Regions from separate parts of the Homo sapiens genome. Here region 2 is linked to region 1. Evidence: promoter capture Hi-C in human tissues and cell types (Jung and others, 2019). All regions are on one chromosome and are shown on one strand. Each heading gives the region's core, a stretch centred on a gene start or on the middle of the fragment in contact. The rest is flanking DNA. Distances are from core to core; before and after follow the strand shown. Region 1 holds the start of FGFR1 (fibroblast growth factor receptor 1). Region 2 overlaps NSD3 (nuclear receptor binding SET domain protein 3).

What was found. The method cuts DNA at HindIII sites, captures the fragments that hold promoters and counts their contacts. A contact is called where the count stands out against the background at its distance.
Region 2: a fragment that was not itself captured here is called in contact with the fragment with the promoter of FGFR1 in region 1 in 2 of the 25 tissues and cell types used here (aorta and pancreas).

The regions. Positions count from the first base shown.
Region 1 is chr8:38,467,031-38,470,805 of GRCh38, reverse strand. It overlaps FGFR1 (fibroblast growth factor receptor 1), which reads left to right and starts at 2,171. Exons shown (of 18, transcript NM_023110.3): 1 at 2,171-2,825. RefSeq lists enhancers at 1,839-2,008, 1,445-2,431 and silencers at 2,289-2,358, 2,629-2,758, 2,769-2,888. The HindIII fragment of the contact is 23,892 bases long and covers 1-3,775 here.
Region 2 is chr8:38,288,890-38,292,805 of GRCh38, reverse strand. NSD3 (nuclear receptor binding SET domain protein 3) reads left to right here. Exons shown (of 24, transcript NM_023034.2): 17 at 2,129-2,331; 18 at 3,301-3,413. Among named protein-coding and RNA genes, the nearest start is that of PLPP5, 22 kb to the right of the region's middle. The HindIII fragment of the contact is 6,513 bases long and covers 1-3,916 here.

The DNA of each region.
Region 1 (3,775 bases), core at 922-3,421:
CTAATGGGTGGGCAGCTTACATAGGAGTATAAACCAAGCTTGACCAGGAGCTGAAAGGTTAAATGGTGGCTCTTAGGGGAAAACCCTATAAACAGTGGCTGAAGTTCATTTATTCAACAAAGATATGAGTTCTTGTTTCTCATTTTTTGTTTTGTATTATTTTGTTTTGAGACAGGGTCTTACTCTGTCGCCCAGGCTGGAGTGTAGTGGCTGGATCATAGCTCACTGCAGCCTCAAACTCCTGGGCTCAAGCCATCCTCCTTCTTCAGCCTCCACCTCCAGCTAATTTTTAAAAATATTTTGTAGAGACAAGGGCTCACTTTGTTTCCCAGGCTGGTCTTGAACTTCTGGCTTCAAGTGATCCTCCCGCTTCGGCCACCCAAAGTGCTGGGATTACAGGCGTGAGCTGTAATTTAGTTGTTTATTTACTCATTTGTTCAACAAATACTTATTGAATATTTGCTCTTTGGCCAGTCAAGGGATTTCATGAGTGTCTACTATGTGAATAACACTGTGTTGGCCACTAGTCTGTCACCTACTGGTGGATTAGAAAAATAGCGCGAGGACCATTTTTTCTTTTCTTTTCTTTTTTTTTTTGAGACGGAGTCTTGCTCTGTTGCCAGGCTGGAGTGCAGTGGCACAATCTCGGCTCACTGCAACCTCCGCCTCCCGGGTTCAAGCGATTCCTCTGCCGCAGCCTCCCCAGTAGCTGGGATTACAGGCAAGCGCCACCATGCCTGGCTAATTTTTTTGTATTTTAGTAGAGACGGGGTTTCACCTTGTTGGCAAGGATAGTCTCGATCTCCCGACCTCGTGATCCACCCGCCTCGGCCTCCCAAAGTGCTGGGATTACAGGCATAAGCCACCGCACCCGGCCAACTCTTTTCTTAAATTAGCCAGGGAGGCGTGGGTGGGTTGGGTGAGGAGTTGGGTGGGGGGATCTCATTCAGTATTCAAACTTCTACAAGTTTCGGGGTTGAGGTGGGTGATGGTAAGGGAACAGGCCCTGCCACTACCTTTCATAGTGACTTCCATTTGTGTAATATTTTTGGTCCACTGAGAGCTATTATTTTATTTGATTCTTATGACCATCTTGTGAAGGAGTATCAACAGATACCCCGTTTTGATTTTATCAGATGCATGATTTGTCCTACATCAAACTTCATAAATGATGGACAGAATGGAGGAATCCTTCAGACCAAGTGCTGCCTACTTCCCACCCCAATGGTGGCCTCAGCCTGGGCTCACATCACACGCCCCAAGGAGCCTTGGAAAAAATAAAGGCTCTTGGCTCCTTCCTGGGACAGCGTGATTCCTCATGTCTGAGCAGGCCCATGAACTTGTATTTTTCAGACGTTCCCTAGGACCCGTGTCCATCTGGATTAGGGAACCACTACATTATACCACTTCGCGGGAAGACTCAGGGGGAAGCATTTTAGCCACTTTCCTGTGTTCCACAGTACTGGAGGGTGTTCTGAGTGGGCTGTGATTAATTTCCAAACCAACCACACGTCTCCCCTCAACTCCCACTGCTTACTCTTTGCTTCCTAGACATTCACTGCAGGCTGGAGACTTCTGGAAGCCAACAGCATCGCTGTAGAATTTACAGGGTCCAGTTCCCGGTGGACCACAAAACCTAAATTATGTGGCTGGGGAAAGCTGAAATCCAAGGGAAGGGTTTGAGGAGGGGCTGACCTTATAATAAAACCGGCTTGTATTTACTAAGTGTTAACTATGCGCTAGGCCCTCGTTGACGCCTCAACTCTATGTGAAAAGCACTATTATCCCCCATTTACAGATGGGAAAACAGAGATTTAGAGCGCGAAAATCATTTCCCCAAGGCGCACAGACTCCAAAGCCCACGCTACCAGGTACAACCTCAAGGCTGCGGCGTCTCTTCACCTGCCCCCTAGCCCCCAAACCGCTGCTATGTCTAGGGCCTGACATTCCGGCGCCCTCTGGGACGTGCTCAGATGCAGGGGCGCAAACGCCAAAGGAGACCAGGCTGTAGGAAGAGAAGGGCAGAGCGCCGGACAGCTCGGCCCGCTCCCCGTCCTTTGGGGCCGCGGCTGGGGAACTACAAGGCCCAGCAGGCAGCTGCAGGGGGCGGAGGCGGAGGAGGGACCAGCGCGGGTGGGAGTGAGAGAGCGAGCCCTCGCGCCCCGCCGGCGCATAGCGCTCGGAGCGCTCTTGCGGCCACAGGCGCGGCGTCCTCGGCGGCGGGCGGCAGCTAGCGGGAGCCGGGACGCCGGTGCAGCCGCAGCGCGCGGAGGAACCCGGGTGTGCCGGGAGCTGGGCGGCCACGTCCGGACGGGACCGAGACCCCTCGTAGCGCATTGCGGCGACCTCGCCTTCCCCGGCCGCGAGCGCGCCGCTGCTTGAAAAGCCGCGGAACCCAAGGACTTTTCTCCGGTCCGAGCTCGGGGCGCCCCGCAGGGCGCACGGTACCCGTGCTGCAGTCGGGCACGCCGCGGCGCCGGGGCCTCCGCAGGGCGATGGAGCCCGGTCTGCAAGGAAAGTGAGGCGCCGCCGCTGCGTTCTGGAGGAGGGGGGCACAAGGTCTGGAGACCCCGGGTGGCGGACGGGAGCCCTCCCCCCGCCCCGCCTCCGGGGCACCAGCTCCGGCTCCATTGTTCCCGCCCGGGCTGGAGGCGCCGAGCACCGAGCGCCGCCGGGAGTCGAGCGCCGGCCGCGGAGCTCTTGCGACCCCGCCAGGACCCGAACAGAGCCCGGGGGCGGCGGGCCGGAGCCGGGGACGCGGGCACACGCCCGCTCGCACAAGCCACGGCGGACTCTCCCGAGGCGGAACCTCCACGCCGAGCGAGGTAAGAGCCGCGGCGCCCCCGGATCTGGGGCGGGCTTGGCGTCCCGAGCGGCCCCCGGCGCCGGAGCCTCCCGGCTGCGCGCTTTGCCCGCCGCAGCCCAGCCGGGGCCGGCGCCTCCCTCCGCTCGCCGCCCGCCCCTTTCACCTCCTGGCTCCCTCCCGGGCGATCCGCGCCCCTTGGGTCTCCCCTCCCTTCCCTCCGTCCGCGTCTCCTGCGCCCCCTCCCTGCGCTCGTCCCGCCGCTCTTCCCGCCGCCCAACTTTTCCTCCAACTCGCGCTCGGGAGCTGGCGAGGCGGCGGCGGCTCCTCAGTGAGTCCCGGGAGGGACAGGCCCGGGGCGAAGGCGGCGAGGCCCGCGGTTTCCTGGACTGGGGAGGAGGGCGGGAGTGGGCGGCGAGGTGGGATGCGTTGTGTGTGTTATGTGTGTGTGTTGCATTCCACTCCATGTCTTTTTGGTCCCCTTTTGGGGATTCACCCCCAATTCAGCAGGTAGCTTTGGGCTCAACGCTAAAAATCCGGGGCATTCCTAAGTCCTTTTCCACCCCCGGGAAAGCCTGGGGTGCGGGTTGGGGTCGGATGGGGTGGGAGATGAACTGCGGAGGACGTGGAGGGCTAGGTTAGCTTCTCTTGGAATAGGTTTTAAGGAGGTGTCGTCACCAAATGGCTGAATCTGCTTGAGCTGAGAGCGAAAAACGACTCCCCTTTCCAGAAGGGGTGATCTTATGACTTGGACGGTCTCTGAAAGGGTCGGAAGTTTGGGGAACGGGAGGACAACCCACGGTCGTTAAGCCGAGGTGTGGGATGGGGGCGGAAGGACCGTTCGGTCCCAATCTGGTTCCTAGAGGTGGGGGAAGGGATGAGGGTTTTTGTCCGGTGTGGTTCACTCGGCAGCGATGCGTATGCTTCTCTGGCCCAGACCCCTCTGCACCTCGCTTCCCCTACCGTTATGTT
Region 2 (3,916 bases), core at 720-3,219, 180 kb after region 1:
TGTTTGTTTGTTTTTTTGAGACAGAGTCTCACACTGTTGCCCAGGCTGGAGTACAGTGGCACGATCTTGGCTCACTGCAAGCTCTGCCTCCCGGGTTCACGCCATTCTCCTGCCGCAGCCTCCCAAGTAGCTGAGACTCCAGGCACCCGACACCACACCTGGCTAATTTTTTGTATTTTTTTTTTTTAGTAGAGATGGGGTTTCACCATGTTGGCCAGGATGGTCTCGATCTCCTGACCTCGTGATACACCCGCCTTGGCCTCCCAAAGTGCTGGGATTACAGGCGTGAGACACCGTGCCTGGCCTAATCTTTGTATTTTTATTAGAGACGGGGTTTCACCATGTTGGCCAGGCTGGTCTTGAACTCCTGACTTCAAGTGATCTGCCCGCCACAACCTCCCCAAGTGCTGGGATTACAGGCCTGAGCCACCACACCTGGCCAATACAGTATGTTTTTAATACCTGGGAAGAAATACATCTAATGTTAATAGTGTCAAGGATGAGATTACAAGAAGAGGCATTTTCACTTTTCTACTATACATTTCTGCATTGTTTTAATTTTTAGAAGAAGTGCATACTGCTTTCATAATTGAAAAATATGTATCTTTCTGGCATGGAGAAGGGTGCACAGTTTGAAAATTAATACATTTAAGACATTTCTAGATAAGAAATATCTAAAACAATGTAAGAAGCCTTCAGATCTTCAAATAAACTTCAATTTTTTTAAAGTTATGGATATAAAAATGTCTTTGATTTATTTTAACACTTAAATTTTAATTATATTACATTTTAAAGAAACCCAAAACAGTGCTCCAATTAAATTCACAGTCCAGTGAGATCTTATATCTAGGTCAGATTCTTCTTGTATGTTTTGGAAAGACTTCCATCCGTGAACTAATTCTTAATGTATTTCTTTCCAGTCAGGCCCAGTGGGGCTGCATGAAGCTGTTTATTTTCAATAACTAGTTATTCCAATGTGTTGCTTCTTGGGGGAAAATATGAGGACCTGGAACAAACCCAGGCAGAACATGTGACTCTTCCTAACTGACGTTAGTGAAGGCAGTAACTGTATACATATTTAATTACCTTAAAGTTGTTTAGAAATAAATAGAGCCTGCTTTGAGAACGAACCAAGTATCAATCACAGAAAATATTGGTTTTTGTTTTGTTTACAATTTGCGCATGGATTCTTACCCATGTTTTCAATTCTTAGATGAACAGCAGAGTACCTTTCAGGTGACACTTTATCAAGTTCTGCAATATAAATCTGGGAGTGCAATCATGTCATCATTTATCTTCTCAATAATACAGTTATGTGTTAAAAATTGTTTTATTAAGCATATGTAAAATAAGAGATTCAAAAAATTTAAGTCTATGTATATTTACTACAAAAGCCCATGAGGTTGGCCTCATTTTCTGACTGTTAGCTTCATCATTCAATTCTTAACTTGTCTGCTTGCTAGAAACTGTCAGATTTCCTCACAGATGGTTTCATTTAGTGACTGCTGTAGTATTCAATTATCATAGCCTGAAACAGTTATATTTTCATTCTGTCCACTATTCCATGTTTAATTATGATCTAAGATGAATTAGATTCTGAAATACAAAGTGATATAAAACCTAGTACATTTGACCAAGAGGTGTTTGCCCAGGTTGACTCGAGACTAAATGCTGATTTGAATGGGAGTGGCCATTCTTTATGATAGCATCAGTTTATTCTCAAAATGATTCCATTGACTACTAGAAATAAACTGTTATACCTTGAAAGATAATCTCAGTATTAAGTTTGGGGGGAAACATGACTTTTCTAGGATTGAAATTAGGTTTGGAATATCATTGGGTAGTAGGTTCAGTATTATTACATTTTAGAACATTTTCATGATATATATTTTATAAATATGAAATATTTTTTAAAAGAAAGTAGATCAGGTGTTTAGGGCCTAATTTGTTTAGTCTGTGTTCACTATTTCATTAATTACTTTTTATAATGATGTGTGGTATTTTATGTTCTTAGAATCTGAATGAAAATTGCAAAATACAAAAACTTTTTTCCCTTCTGCCAATCTTGTAAATAGTGGTTTTTTGTTTCGTTTTTGCCCTCTTGATCTAAAATTGCTTTTGTTTTCAGATGGTGGCCAGCAGAGATCTGCAACCCCAGGTCTGTGCCACTGAACATCCAGGGCCTTAAACATGACTTGGGGGACTTCCCTGTATTCTTCTTTGGTTCTCATGACTACTACTGGGTACACCAGGGCAGAGTGTTCCCTTATGTTGAAGGAGACAAAAGCTTTGCTGAAGGGCAGACTAGTATTAACAAGACCTTCAAAAAGGGTAAGCTGGATGATGTTTACAGTGACTCAAAACTACAACTCCGGTGTCAGTTTCTCAACATCTCCTCACCTCCCTAATATTTCTGGTATTAGAGAATTTTCACTAGACATTATGATCCTGTGTCCATAAGCTTCCAGTCACATTAGAACCAGGTTTAAAATACATTTCAATATTGTAGACTGTGCTGTGTATTTGAAAGGAATTTCTTCAGTGTCTTTCTATAAACACAGATTATTCTAGGAATAGTCTTTTTTTTTTTTTTAGACAGGGTCTCACTCTTGCCCAGGCTAGAATGCAGTGGCATGATCACAGCTCACTGCAGCCTTGAACTCCAGGGCTCAAGTGATCCTCTTGCCTCAGCCTCCCGAGTAGCTGGGGCTACAGGTGCCCACTATCATGCCCAGCTAATTTTTGTACTTTTTATAGAGATAGGGTTTCACCATGTTGCCCAGGCTGGTCTTGAACTCCTGGGTTCAAGCGATCTGCCCACCTCAGCCTTCCAAAGTGTTGGGATTATAGCTCTGAGCCACCAAGCCCAGCCTGAGAATAGTCTTTTTAATCAAGTGAAGTTCCTTTGCAACAGAAGAGTAGTAAAGACTTGCCATGAAAAGCCTTACAACTGCTTTTGCAATGAGTTGCCAGCAAGTTTGGCTTTCTGGTAAGGGTAAAATGAATTTAAATCTATTACAAGGCAAAAAGCTGCTCTTAGGGTCACTTGGAGACTTCTGATCATTGAAGTAGAGCCTCTTCCCTGTGGCTACAGCATGCACAGAGCATAGTGTTCAGTGAGTTATATCCTATTTCTTTGTTACCCCATCCTGGTGGTAAACAGTAACTTCCAGAAAATAATTCTAAAAAGAAAAATCTCAGGCCAGATGCAAAGCATTGGGAAGGCAGCGTAAAACTACTATCCCATCAATTTTCCTTTGGTTTTTGGTATTTACATACTTTGTATCATCTTATTGGCAGCACTGGAAGAAGCTGCAAAACGTTTCCAGGAATTGAAAGCACAAAGAGAAAGTAAAGAAGCCCTAGAGATTGAAAAAAACTCAAGAAAACCCCCTCCCTACAAACACATCAAAGTAAGTCTTTATCTCTGGCCTGGGATTGCCAAATAAAATAAGAAACAAAGTAAGTCTTTACTATGAAAGCATTGTTATTTAATAGATGAGACGAAATGCATTACTCTTTAGTAGTTAAAGACCCTCTTTGACTTGTGCAAACTTTTGCTAATTATCACAGTCTTCTGTAAAACAGAGCTTCTGTTGGAAGCATCAAATGGGAGCCATAGTTATTGTGCTGTGAAAATTAGGTCTTTGATAAGTCCTCTCATACCTAGTAGCAACATGTCTTATGTGAAATCCTGTTCTTGTTCTACCAGGTTATCCCGCCACCAAATGAGAATATAGGTGTTTACTCCCTTTATTTCAGAGAACCCACAAACAAGCGTATTTTCTCTTGTTTTCAGTTATGAAATTTCCATCTAGTGAAAGTAGAAATACCCAGGATAAATAAGTGAAAATTCACATGAGGCTTTGATATTTTTGTCAACTAAATGACAAAAGAGATGGTTATTAATCTCAGC